2 separate regions of the Homo sapiens genome follow, and region 2 is linked to region 1. The links are contacts of gene promoters, found by promoter capture Hi-C in human tissues and cell types (Jung and others, 2019). All regions are on one chromosome and are shown on one strand. Each heading gives the region's core, a stretch centred on a gene start or on the middle of the fragment in contact. The rest is flanking DNA. Distances are from core to core; before and after follow the strand shown.

The links. The method cuts DNA at HindIII sites, captures the fragments that hold promoters and counts their contacts. A contact is called where the count stands out against the background at its distance.
Region 2: a fragment that was not itself captured here is called in contact with the fragment with the promoter of SLC1A4 in region 1 in 1 of the 25 tissues and cell types used here (liver).

The regions. Positions count from the first base shown.
Region 1 is chr2:64,988,089-64,994,348 of GRCh38, forward strand. SLC1A4 (solute carrier family 1 member 4) reads left to right here and starts at 1,311. Exons shown (of 8, transcript NM_003038.5): 1 at 1,311-2,082. The coding sequence starts at 1,556. RefSeq lists silencers at 621-1,320, 1,531-1,710 and an enhancer at 1,313-1,897. The HindIII fragment of the contact is 13,271 bases long and covers 1-5,222 here.
Region 2 is chr2:64,630,805-64,636,922 of GRCh38, forward strand. It overlaps SERTAD2 (SERTA domain containing 2), which reads right to left. Exons shown (of 2, transcript NM_014755.3): 2 at 817-6,071. The coding sequence starts at 6,067. The coding sequence ends at 5,123. Among named protein-coding and RNA genes, the nearest start is that of SERTAD2-AS1, 3.1 kb to the right of the region's middle. The HindIII fragment of the contact is 5,305 bases long and covers 1-5,099 here.

The DNA.
Region 1 (6,260 bases), core at 61-2,560:
AGGAAGGAAGGAAAAAGAAAAAACAAAAGACCACCCACGGAAGTCTTTAAAGAACAATTCACAAGCAGAATAAAAAAATATAAAAATATAATAACTGTGATACAGTAAAAAGACTCAGCAGAAGTTTCCCTTGTAACTCGCGTGGCCAAAGCAGATATCAAATAAAAGATGAAATAAACAGGAAATCCATAGAACGTGAACAATAAGGAACCGTTCAGGATGGCCAAACCGCCGTCTGCGCTGTTTTCTCGCCAGGGCTCAGGCCTGGGAACGGAAGAGGTTAAAATCCAGTGGCTTGTGTTTCAGCTTTGGTTACGTGGCAGAAACCAACTGGAAGTGGTGGCGTGAGAGCTCTGTTTCTTCTAGAAGAGCTTTGCGTCTTAAACGCCCATACCGCAGACAGCTGCCTGGCGGGCGACCCAGCCCCATCCTGATGGCCCCAGGACACAAGCCCAGGAGCGCCCCGGTGCGCGCGGTTCCGCGGCCCAGGGGCGCCGGGTTTGGTGGCACAGCGAGCCCCCTTTCTCTAGCGGTATGGCTGCGTTAGAGCCCTAATGAGCGCGTGCGAAGGCTCCCCTTATTCATCCATCCTCCGGTCCGTCCTTTGTCTCAAGGCCGGGGCCTTGCTGGGCACCATGGCGTGCTTTACCGCACAAGCCCCTGAGGACCCCTGGAAGAAGGGATCTTCCGCAGGAGGGGACGCGACGGCAGGACCGCCCCGGGCCCCCTCACCGCGCCCGGCCCCCTGGCGGGAGAGGCCGGCGAGCTCTGGAGAGGAGCGCGGGCCGCGCGGGGCGAAAGCGCCACCCGGGAGAGAGGGATCCTCCCCTCTCCTCCTCTCTTCTCCCCTCCCCTCCCTCCCCTCCCACAGTCCTCAGGAGGAGGAACGCCGCTGCGTTCTAAGTTCTCCCGGGCCCTCTGGCCCCGAGGACTCAGATCCCGGCCGCGGGAGAGGGCCCGGCAGGTGCCAAGGAGCCCGGGCGGTCCTTCAGCCCGCACTTCCCCGCGGTCGCCCGGAGCCGGCCTCCGTTAGCCGGGCGGGTAGGCGGCTATTGGCGCCAGGATTGGCCGGCGCCGCCCGCGCCCCCGCGGCCTCGGGTGGAGCCTCCCGCCCGGCCGCCCCCTGCGGCACCCGCGACACGGGTGGGGACCAGAGGCTCCCGGCGGCGGCTCCCGGCGGCGGCTCCCGGGCTGTGATTGGCCAGCGCCACAGGGGGCGGGACGGCGGGCGTGAAGTGAGCGGGCTGGGGCCGCTGGCGCGCCCTCCTACTTCCCCGTCTGCGTCCGCGTTCGCGGCTCCCGTTTGCATCATCTCCAGCCGGCGGCTGCTCCAGGGAGGCTGGGCGCGATCCTCTCCGCCCGCGGCTCCAACCCGCACTCTGCGCCTCTCCTCGCCTTTCTCGCACCTGCTCCTGCGCCAGGCCCGGAGACCCCCGGGGCGGCTTCCCAGAACCTGCGGAGCACAACTGGCCGACCGACCCATTCATTGGGAACCCCGTCTTTTGCCAGAGCCCACGTCCCCTGCCACCTCTAGCTCGGAGCGGCGTGTAGCGCCATGGAGAAGAGCAACGAGACCAACGGCTACCTTGACAGCGCTCAGGCGGGGCCTGCGGCCGGGCCCGGAGCTCCGGGGACCGCGGCGGGACGCGCACGGCGTTGCGCGGGCTTCCTGCGGCGCCAAGCGCTGGTGCTGCTCACCGTGTCCGGGGTGCTGGCGGGCGCGGGCCTGGGCGCGGCGTTGCGCGGGCTCAGCCTGAGCCGCACGCAGGTCACCTACCTGGCCTTCCCCGGCGAGATGCTGCTCCGCATGCTGCGCATGATCATCCTGCCGCTGGTGGTCTGCAGCCTGGTGTCGGGCGCCGCCTCGCTCGATGCCAGCTGCCTCGGGCGTCTGGGCGGCATCGCTGTCGCCTACTTTGGCCTCACCACACTGAGTGCCTCGGCGCTCGCCGTGGCCTTGGCGTTCATCATCAAGCCAGGATCCGGTGCGCAGACCCTTCAGTCCAGCGACCTGGGGCTGGAGGACTCGGGGCCTCCTCCTGTCCCCAAAGAGACGGTGGACTCTTTCCTCGACCTGGCCAGGTAACACTCTCCACCTCTCCCAGGGCCCAGTGGGAGACGCCAGTTCTCGGATGCCCTCCAGTTCATACACCCATATGCTTATACACTCCTAAGAGTTAATTCTTAGCTGGCTGCTGGTGGCGTTTAACGTTTTAAAAATATCAAAATGACGTCTGGAGTTTTTGCGTGCTGACCACACCTTTGCAAACAGCTGGGGCGCACCGCACAATCGAAAGAGCAGGGCCGCATCTTTGAGCAAGAACCAGTCCCCACCGTTAGGTGGGCGTTTGTTAGGGAAGAGCCAGCCGCCCCGCCTGTTCTTTACTCCTTATACTCTCGCGCTGCTCTCCCCGGTAAAAATGTTCCGACCACGCCCCAGTGGCTTCGCCTCATTTTCTCCCACATGGTGCCTAAAAGCTTCTGGGAGCATTGGTTAAGTTTTGCCTCTTGGGTCATCCGGCTTGCAATCTATGGCCTTCTCTGTTACAGTCCTTGGCTGCGAAGGAAGCTGGCAATTTTCTGCAGTTATCAGTGGACCCACGGATAATAGGGCTGGGGTTAGTTGAGTGAGACATATTGCCCAGAAATATGCCTCTCCTGAGGGCTTGGGGCTTGGGACAGGTTGCTGTCCACCCCAGTAAAGACCACGGCAGAGTGCTGTGTTTCAAAGGCCTTTCTTTGTGCGAAAGTGTGAGTTCTAGAGGGGAGGGAGAGAAGCATCTTCACTTAGTTTTGCCTGCTTTTTGCAATTCTTAGAAGTTGCATTTCATCCTTTGAGATGATGTAGTATCCTTTCTGTGACTTATCCAAAACCTTGGTCTCTCCTGGTTTCTCCATTAGCCCAAAGTTCACAAATGGGGAAACTGCAGCCCGGAGGCATTTACTGATCTAACCAGGTTCAGTTGAGTGAGGAGTCCAGCTGGCTCCTTCTCCAGATTTCTGATGATTTTGGATTCTGAGCCTTGGAGTTATTAATATATTTTGTCTTGAGTTATTGAGGCAAAGCTCCTCATTGCTGAGGTTGTGAAAAACAGCAAACCCTGGGCAAAGTGACTTGCCTTTCCAACTGTTTCCATTTCTCCTTCTGGAAAATGTGATGGCTGTCTGCACTTAAGAGAGAGATTGTTCACTTAAAACAACAAAAATCTAGGACATCCGTATTTAAAAACAAACAAACAACAACAAAAAAAAACCACTCATGAGGGAGACCAAAAGTTCTTGCCAAAAGGGCAGATAGTGGTGGCCTATTAGGACTTTTAAGGGGATCACAGCTTTTTTTTTTTTTTTTTTTTTTTAAAGTCTGGGTCTTGCTCTTTTGCCCAGACTGGAGTGCAGTGTTGGGATCCTAGCTCACTGCATCCCCGAACTCCTAGGCTTCAGCGATCCTCCTGCCTCAGTCTCCAGAGTAGCTGAGATTACAGGTGCACACCACCACACCCAGCTTTTTGTTTGTTTGTTTGTTTGTTTTTTGAGACGGAGTCTCGCTCTGTCACCCAGGCTGGAGTGCAGTGTGCGATCTCGGCTCACTGCAAGCTCCGCCTCCTGGGTTCACGCCATTCTCCTGCCTCAGCCTCCCGAGTAGCTGGGATTACAGGCGCGTGCCACCACGCCCGGCTAATTTTTTGTATTTTTTAGTAGAGACGGGGTTTCACCATGTTAGCCAGGATGGTCTTGATCTCCTGACCTCGTGAGCCACCCGCCTCGGCCTCCCAAAGTGCTGGGATTACAGGTGTGAGCCACCCTGCCTGGCCCCAGCTAACTGTTTTAAATTTTTTTAGAGATGGGGTTTCACTATGCTGCCCAGGCTGGTCTAGATCACAGCCTTTGTTCTGTGACTGGCAGCTTGATATTTGGAGTCCAGACACTTTTTAAGTTTGGAAACTAACTTTTAGGTGAGTGCTGAAAAGAAGTCTCCTGAGGTTGAGAGCACCTTTAGCCTATTACCTGTAGGAGGTCGGTCAGCTCTCTCAGGGAGGAAAGGCAATAATGGGGTTAAAGGATTATTCTTTGCAGGGATCTGTGGCCCAGGGAGGGAGAATGGATGTTCAGCTCTGTCCTGCTATGGTCCCGCACCGGGAGCCTCAATAGGATCTTTTAACTCCAGAAGAGGGGGCAGTGGTGGTAGGGGGTACCTCATTACCTCCTGAAGGGACTTCTTGTTTCCTGATCATGGTTTTCTAGTTTTAGACCCAAGCCCCTTCACCTCCTGCTTCTGACATGGATGGTGACCCAGCGTCATAGCTTAGTAGTGTGGGTGCAACTTTTCAATGACTTGGGCTGCACCTGCATGGAGGGCTAAGAGAGGCTTTGTTGTGGCTTGCTGGGGATAGGTATTGCTTCATAATTCTTCCAACAGCCAACTTCATCTAATCCAGCAGCTCACGGATAAAGGTAGGGCAGGTGGTATATCCCATTTTATGACTGACAAAACTGAGACAGAGATTAAGCGATTTGCTCAAGGTCATGGAGTGGCTTATAAAGAAGAGATTAGAAGGACTGTGGGTCTCCTACCCCACAGTGCAGGGTTCTCTCTCTTTCTCCTAATCCCTCTTCCTCCAAGTCAACATGCCTTAGTAATGTCACCTGCCTAGTCTAGTGTGGCTATCTCAGAAATGCTTTCTCTGGGCCCAGAGAGGAACCAGGTAGGCATATGACTGGGTAAAGACAAATGCTCCTTTCCTCCAGCCAGCGTGGAGGCTGAGCTCCTCAAGTGAAGGAAAGTATGTGTGCACCGCTGAGGTTTGGTCTCAGGCTGAAGCAGCTTGTGAAAGGAAACTAAGTCCCAAGCCACCCGGAAATGCTTCCTGAGTCTGGAGAGTCTCTGACATCAAAATTAAAAAATTGCTTCCTTCAAGGAAACTTCACGGATGTGGATTTCATGTGACTCTGGGCATCTTCTTTGGAAAGGCAGTGCCCCATTCCTTTCTTCCTAGGGGCACGTGAATGAAATGAGACTCTGCCAGTAAACGCCTCAGTTATCCAGCAGGCCCTCTCGAGGTAGCTGCTCAGAACTTAAACACCTGGAAGAGTGGGAAAGGCCTCTGATGAGTCAGCATAGCTGCTGCTGAGGCTTTGTGCTAAAGTCCATGCCCTTTCCTGATGGTAAAGTGCCCCCAAATCCCCCAGGGTCTCTCTGTCATGATTTCTAATTTGGTTTTTAAAGCTGGAACTACAAGTCAGAAAGAGATGAAGCTAGTAGGTATTCATTACATGTGTATATGTTTTTTTAAAATTCAGAATGTCATTGCTGAGTGGTTTGATTTCCCAGCACACAATGGGTTAGAAATAACAATGTAGAATAGAGAATTGGGATGAGAAGGCTGGAGCTAGAAGCAATGAGAAGGGATGGCCAATAGTAGCTGGCAGGTGGAAGAATCATAGTCTCTTCCTGAGCAGCCCGGAGTTCTGTGCCTGGGAATCCAGAACAGTATAGGACTTTCAGAACCATGTGTGACCTAAGTGGTTGACTTGTGGGTTTTTATCCAAAATGAAATGGTTGGGCACCAAAGAGACAGAAACAGGTTATCAGGAAACTAGTCATTGTGGAACTTCTTGGTCCCTAACAATGCTTACTGGTTGTGGGACATGTCCATAACTTTTCCATTCCTTGGTTTCCTCATCTTTATTATGGGAATCATGATGGTACCCACCTCGCAGGATTGTTCTGAGGGTTAGCTGGGTTGTGTCTAAGAGCTCTAAAGCTCTTCTGGGTTCTAAAGCTGTTAGAACAGTGCTGGCCCAATACACCTGTGCTCTTGTTATAAATAGAGTGATTGGGTTTTCCAGTTCACCTGAGCTAATGGGGATGGCCCTCTTTCCGTAACCTGAAATAAATGAGGGTAGATGGGAAGAAGAGGAATGTTTAGGGGAACTCAAGATGACTTGAAGCTAATGTAGTCTCTAGGTGTATTGGGAACCACATGGCATCTGGAGGAGAAGTGAACAGTAACTGACTATGTTTTAGACTACTAATTAATAGAGTCACACTATGGAAAATTTGGAAAGGGAGAGAAGTCAAAACTAAACACAGAAGAGCCTTCCATTCTGAAATGGGACAGAAGTCCCCACAGATTCTCACTGACATTCCGGTTTCTTTTTCCCCTGCCTTACATGCTTATGATCTCCAGTTGACCTCCGCTATAAATTGAAGGGATTGAGGCAAATGGTTTCTAACATTCCTTTGGGCTCTAAAGTTTGTA
Region 2 (6,118 bases), core at 1,197-3,696, 360 kb before region 1:
GTTGCACAGGGTCTCCCCCACTCCCCACTGGAAGACAGCAGGGGCAGGGTCCAGATGGTATAATCAGTGGGTACACCTGGAGGACGTGCAACAACCACGTGACCCACTGGCATTTTAGAATGTCAACTCCAGCATCAGGGATGGTAGAGAGACGATCACAGCAGGAAGACTAGTCAGGAAACAGGTACGGCGGTCAGAGGCAAGGAGAGAGAAAGGGTCCGAGCTGGGGACGCTATGGTGAGGATGGAGAGGTGGTGGCAGAGGGAATGACATGGCTGGGACTGCGGAACAGGGTGCAAGGGTGGGCAACTGAGCCAAGCGTGGAGCAGAGTGCTGAAGACAACGAGCCCACAGAAGAATCAGCCCCCAGGGGAAACGAGAGCTCTTTAGACGCGCTGAGAGTGAGGGAGCAAATCTTGGTAGATACTGAAGTCTGGAGCTCAGGAGAGAGGCAGGGGCTGGAGACCAGTTTTGAGAGTCCTGAGTGGATTAGATCACCTTGGGAAAGCAAGAGGCAGCAGGAATGGAGGCTCAGTGAAGTGCAGTCATGGGCCAAACCCTGGAAAAGACAATGTTTTAAAGAGAGCTGGGGCACAGATGTGAGAAAAAGGAGGTCCAGAAGGGTCCAAGAAGCAGGAGGAGAACCAGGAGAGAAGGGTGGTTCCTGAGACCAGGACGGTTCAGGAAGACCAACAGCACGCACTCCTTCGGGGCCCCCCTGCTGCTCTCTCTTGCTGGACTTTGCTTAATGTGAGCAAACTGTCACAAATAAGCTGATTGAGCTCCCATCAAAAGAAAACTGCAAGCATGCCTCTCTCATCTTTTAACTGTTTATTGTATAATATAAAACTACAAAAGTAAGACTGCTCATTTCCATGTACATTTAATCTGTCCAATTGTTTAGATTACAGCCCAAACCTACATGTGAATACAGCCATCTGGGTTCCGATGTAACGTCTGTAATATTGCATAGAAAAGGCACAGCTCTCAGGTCTGTGGGGGAAAGGTTATACCTCCTTTTTGACAAAAGCCCTCCTCAAAAACCATGCACCAAACATGTCACTATGTACATCTTTTTTCAAAATCTCGGTCATGCGCACATATGGCCTGCATTTCTCTTCCAAAACTTGTTATCCCCAAAAGAAGTCCAACTTTTTATTGGCTTTGTCTGCAATAGCATTTGATCCTGGCTAATTTTCAAGAACCATTCAGACTCATTCTTAGAAACACTGAAAACAATTGTACATAAGCAGGATGCACACAACTCCATGCCTCCAGGTGCGGGGCAGTTACAGGAAGGTAACCATTTACAGCCAGAAAAGGTTAAATATACTCTTTTCATTGTTTTCAGAAAATGTATAAAGGTCCAATTTGTAACAGCAAGGTTTTCAAATTAAGACAATTCGTATAGAGTAGCAATTGCTGCACGAAGTAGAGTCTTTTTTTTTTTTTTTTTTACATTTGTCATTTAAGAAGGCTGCCCTGCGGTATTCATAATTCATTGTTTACCACAAAGGTGGTTCATAAATTTAAGCTTTAAAAACGATCTGTAAGTTGATACTTTGGCTCTTTGGAGCTTATTTCATTAAGAAATTTTCCTTGATTGACCTCAGGGCAGCTGGGGCACTCCAAGGGGCTATGGCGATAAAAAGCTCAATTGGTAAAGACACTCGAGAGGTGCAGAGGAGGCTCTGGCCACTGCTCACCCTTTGGTATGAACAAGGGTGCCCATGTGGTTGCTCCTTCTGTCATCCAGAGAAAGTGCTACTAAAAAAACTTTAAAAAATATCAACCCTTTGATGCTTTTCTTAAAAATTTGGAGGTATTAAAACATTCCTCATACCTTTTGCATATTTCAAATAGACCCATATTAGAGAAGAGTAAAAATGAATGCGGACTGTGCATACAATGAGAAGACCTGGGGGCCTGGCTTGGACCCCCTTTTAATACAGATTTACATTCCTACAAGAGAATACATTCCTACCATACATTCTGCACATGTTACGATCCAGATGTTAGCGCTCCACAGTAAAATAAATATATTTACACAGAAAAAAGGAATAAATAACTTATGGGGGGAAAAAAACTCACTTCAAATTCAAAGCTCTTACGATTCTGCTCTCATCTTGTCACTTCATTGCACATCAGTGTCAATAACTGTCCTCTCCCAGCCCCAGCTCGGTTTTCTCGTAAAGGCACCTCAAGCTGCCTGCCTGGCCCTGGATGCCATGTGATGTCTTTCATAAAGGGAAGGCACTGCTGGAAGCACATCCCACACTCAAACTGGGACTTGGAGATCCCACTCCAGCTCCTACTGTTCCCTGTTGGGACATCACTTTGTAAGAATAGGATGCAAAAGCAATTAGAACCCTAGATCATTTTGATCTTTCTGAAAATGGGCTGCTAATTTTCCATGTCTTTCTTGTTAGACTTTGAGTATCAGGGATTTATGGCAACGGTGTCAGAGTTAAAAAGCATTTGCCTGCTGTTTTTGGGGTTTTTGTTTTGATTTTGAAGCCCAGCCTTACAAATACATAAGAGTCAGAGAACCAAGTTTGGGCAACACTTCTCCGTGCTTATTTGAACTGTTGCCCAACATATGGGATTTGTTTAAACACATGATTTGCTAATCCAACAAAAGTACAGTTGTTGTAAGTTACTGTAAATCAGTTTTTAACAATGGCAAACCAACTGTTTTACCCTGTTATTGTTCAGAATCATCAATACTATTGTATATGTGTACGTAGGTAGATGTGTGCAGCATGCGGCAGGTTTGCCAGGTCCTCCAGTTATAGAAAGCATGGAATCTGGGCAGACTTGTTCTCTGCAAGAAAGGGAAGCTCTTAAAATTAACAGGCATACTGACACTGGAAGCATCTACTACAACCCTCACCTCAGTTACATGGTCCCTGGTCCTATTAAAGGAAATGACACACCTGTAGCAGTACGAGGTGTCTGCGTGGAGGTTGCTTGTAGGAGAACAAGTGCAATTTGATCAGTTTCTCACTGCTCTACTGAGCTGATAATTAGCCTTTAAAACACATTCAAGTGGGGGGAAAAAGTAAATTAGAATGTAGAAAGCCTTTATCATATCATACTCAAATCTTTTGCTTAGATGAGCAGTTCCTTCATCACAAACGTCTTTGCTTTGCCATGTGCATTACAAAAATAAAACTAACTATGGCTTGCTTAAAGTGCCATTTTATAAAGTTGTCTTTTTTAATTAGCCAGAAAGACCCAATTTTATCCATGGCAAGAAGTGAGCAGAATTGGTGACTGAATATTGACAAATGACCAACAACAAAGACAACAACAACAACAAAACATCCCATAATTTAAAAATTTTTAAATAAATATAAAAGTTATTCCTAAAGAAGCCATCTGCATAACAATATAGGTTGTAACCTGCACTCAACAGCTAAAGTACCATTGGAAGAAAAGAAAAAACTGAAACAAGAAGGCCATAAACAGTTTCGGCAACAAGCATGATACATTGCAACCTTTTTAAAATTAAATGTACACCACTAGGAATAAAAAGCTACTTCTCAAGTGTGTCCTGGGAGATAAGGTGATGGGGGGGGGAATTGGGGGGAGGAGGGAAAACATGCATAGAAAGTCCTGTCTGAGTTTTGGGGTAAAACAGCCTTGACAAGTGTGAAGTAGCTGACTCAGGAAAGCAACCAGATGGGAAGCTGTGACGTAATGTGATGAACTCCAGGTTCAAGAGTCACACATGTTGTAAGAGTGCATCCCGGGCCGGCCGAGGCGAGCCAAGCTCACTGTGGTGATCACGAAGATGCCATTTTCAGCTCTTAGCAACACAGGGAAAGCTCTAGGGAAAGGAAGCTGCAGAAGACAATTAAGCAACATGATGGATGCCTTCTGGGGAGATTTTCTTCTTTAAGGGCCCTAAGCATTGCAACAGGGCTGAGTTCCATGAAGAAGTTGGTTGCTTTTCGGATGTAAAATTTTGTTCGGATGTAAAATTTCAGGTCATCATAAAAATTATGCCAAAAAGGAAAGATCTGGGTTTTCATTAAAAAACAAAATAAAAACAATTAAAAGCGCAAACTTGGCATAAATACACTCTTAAGAAAGACAGTAGCTTTACCCTCAAAAGAGGGAGCAAAAGAGAACCATCACTTAAACCCCCAGCTCCACAGCCATCTCCCGCCAACTGCTTAATGCAAGTTTGATGAGCACATGTGGCTCTGGCTTTGGAAGTCACAGTACTGGCGGGTGTTGGTGCCAGGGGGTCAGTGCTTGTGAAATTTGGGTGTGATATCACCTGGCCCTTTCTTAAAGCACTGTGTGTGTGTTTATGGGTGTGTGCATGTGTGTGCCTGTGTTTGCATTTGGGGACATCAACTGCAGATTGATTTGATCCAATTTTCTCTTGCACCATACACATATAAAACATTACAACTCTATAAAAGTACAAGTGCAACTTGTACATCTGAAGTTTGCAGGAACTATGTGAGCAAATCCTATCAAAATAGCTATCTCATATGTATAAACAGCATTTGTTTTTAGAAAAACAATATCATAAACTGCAGAATCTGTACAAAAATATAAAATAAATTTGGGCAGCAGTTTTCTAAACAGCCATGTAAATGCAACACTTACGAGGAGTAGTTAATGCCTCTAAAAAGGCCGAATTGCCAAGTCAACCTATACAGGGCAAAAATGCCAGAAAAGGTACTGAGATTATCTAAATAAGATATATATATATAGTTTTCTTCTTTACCTCTTGCAATAAAACTTATAGAAAAAATAGACAAATATGCACATGCAATTTACAGCTTTTCCAACTTAATCCTTGTGCTTCACTTGAACTGTTTATTTTTGTCATTCAACATTGCAACATTGTCTTCAAATGGATTCTTTCCTATACCAGGGTAGTAGGTCTCTGAGGAACCACTCAAAAAAGTGTATTAAAAGTGGTCATACTTGGATGAAGGCACTCCAACTCTGCTCAAAGCAAAAACTAGTGTGATCCTGTTGTAAAATTTTCTTTTTCTCTGAAAAAGGCAAGCAAGGGTGCATGCACAGTGTGGAGAACTGTCAGGGTTATGGGAACGCTCTGGGGTCTGGGTGGGCATAGTCGCTGGGTCCCTGGGTCTTAGGACCCAACAAGCACCTCCATGATGTGGTCCAGCTCTGTGAGGTCCATTTTGAAAGGCTGACTTGGGGTGACAGGCTGACTGCTGTAAGGAGCCAGAGTTTTGAGGAGGTCGTCGGCAGACACAGGGGCCATTTTTGAGGCTGTCCCTGATGAGGAAGTGCAGGGGTCAAAATCATACATGGACGTATCAATGTCAGCAAACAGGATGTCATCCAGGGTCAAGTCTGTCAGGAAACCCGTGGACGTCGTTATTTCAAAATTCCCAGGCAGAGAGTCCATCAGTTTTGAGTCATCTGCGCGGCTCTCTTGAGGACCGTCGAGTTTCTGGGTGCCAGCCTCGCTGGAGGTCCCTTTCACACTGTCAGTCGCAGCCGTGGCCGCCTCTGTGGAGGTAGATGTGGGACAGAGCTCCTCGATCTCGTCCAAGGCAGAGGAGAAACTGTCCTTTTCTGGCAAGAGGGCTGGAGGTGACAGTTTGGTGGGAGCCGTGGGCTGCATGGCCTGGGAGGTGCAAAACGTGTCATCGTCGTCCTCGAGCAGTGAGGCCGGGGTGAGGCAGGCCTCCAGGGGCGTAGTGCTTCCGAGGTCGCAGGGGTGGGAGGACGGGGACGCCAGGTGGCTGAAGGCCGGCGGGGCCTCTCGGTAGCTGTCGCTGGGCTCGGTGGTGGGCTGGGAGGAGGGGGTGAACATGGGCCTCAGGCTGCCTTCCTGTTTGAGTTCCTCCTGGATCCGCCTCAACATGTTGTTAATTAAAACGGTCTTTTGCAAGCTGGGCTCTGTCAGGGGCCTGTGGTTATAGAGTTTCATAAGGGAAATGTTGAAGATAGTCTGGCGCTGTAAGGTGTAAGACACCTTGGATGGACCGTCACAGGGAGACACGATTTTGCCTTCCAGCCCATCTTCATGCTCATCAAACTTCCGTTTTCCTCCTTTACCCAACATATATCTGCAGAGGGGAGAGAGAGGAAATGGCATTAATCACATGAAAGCTGA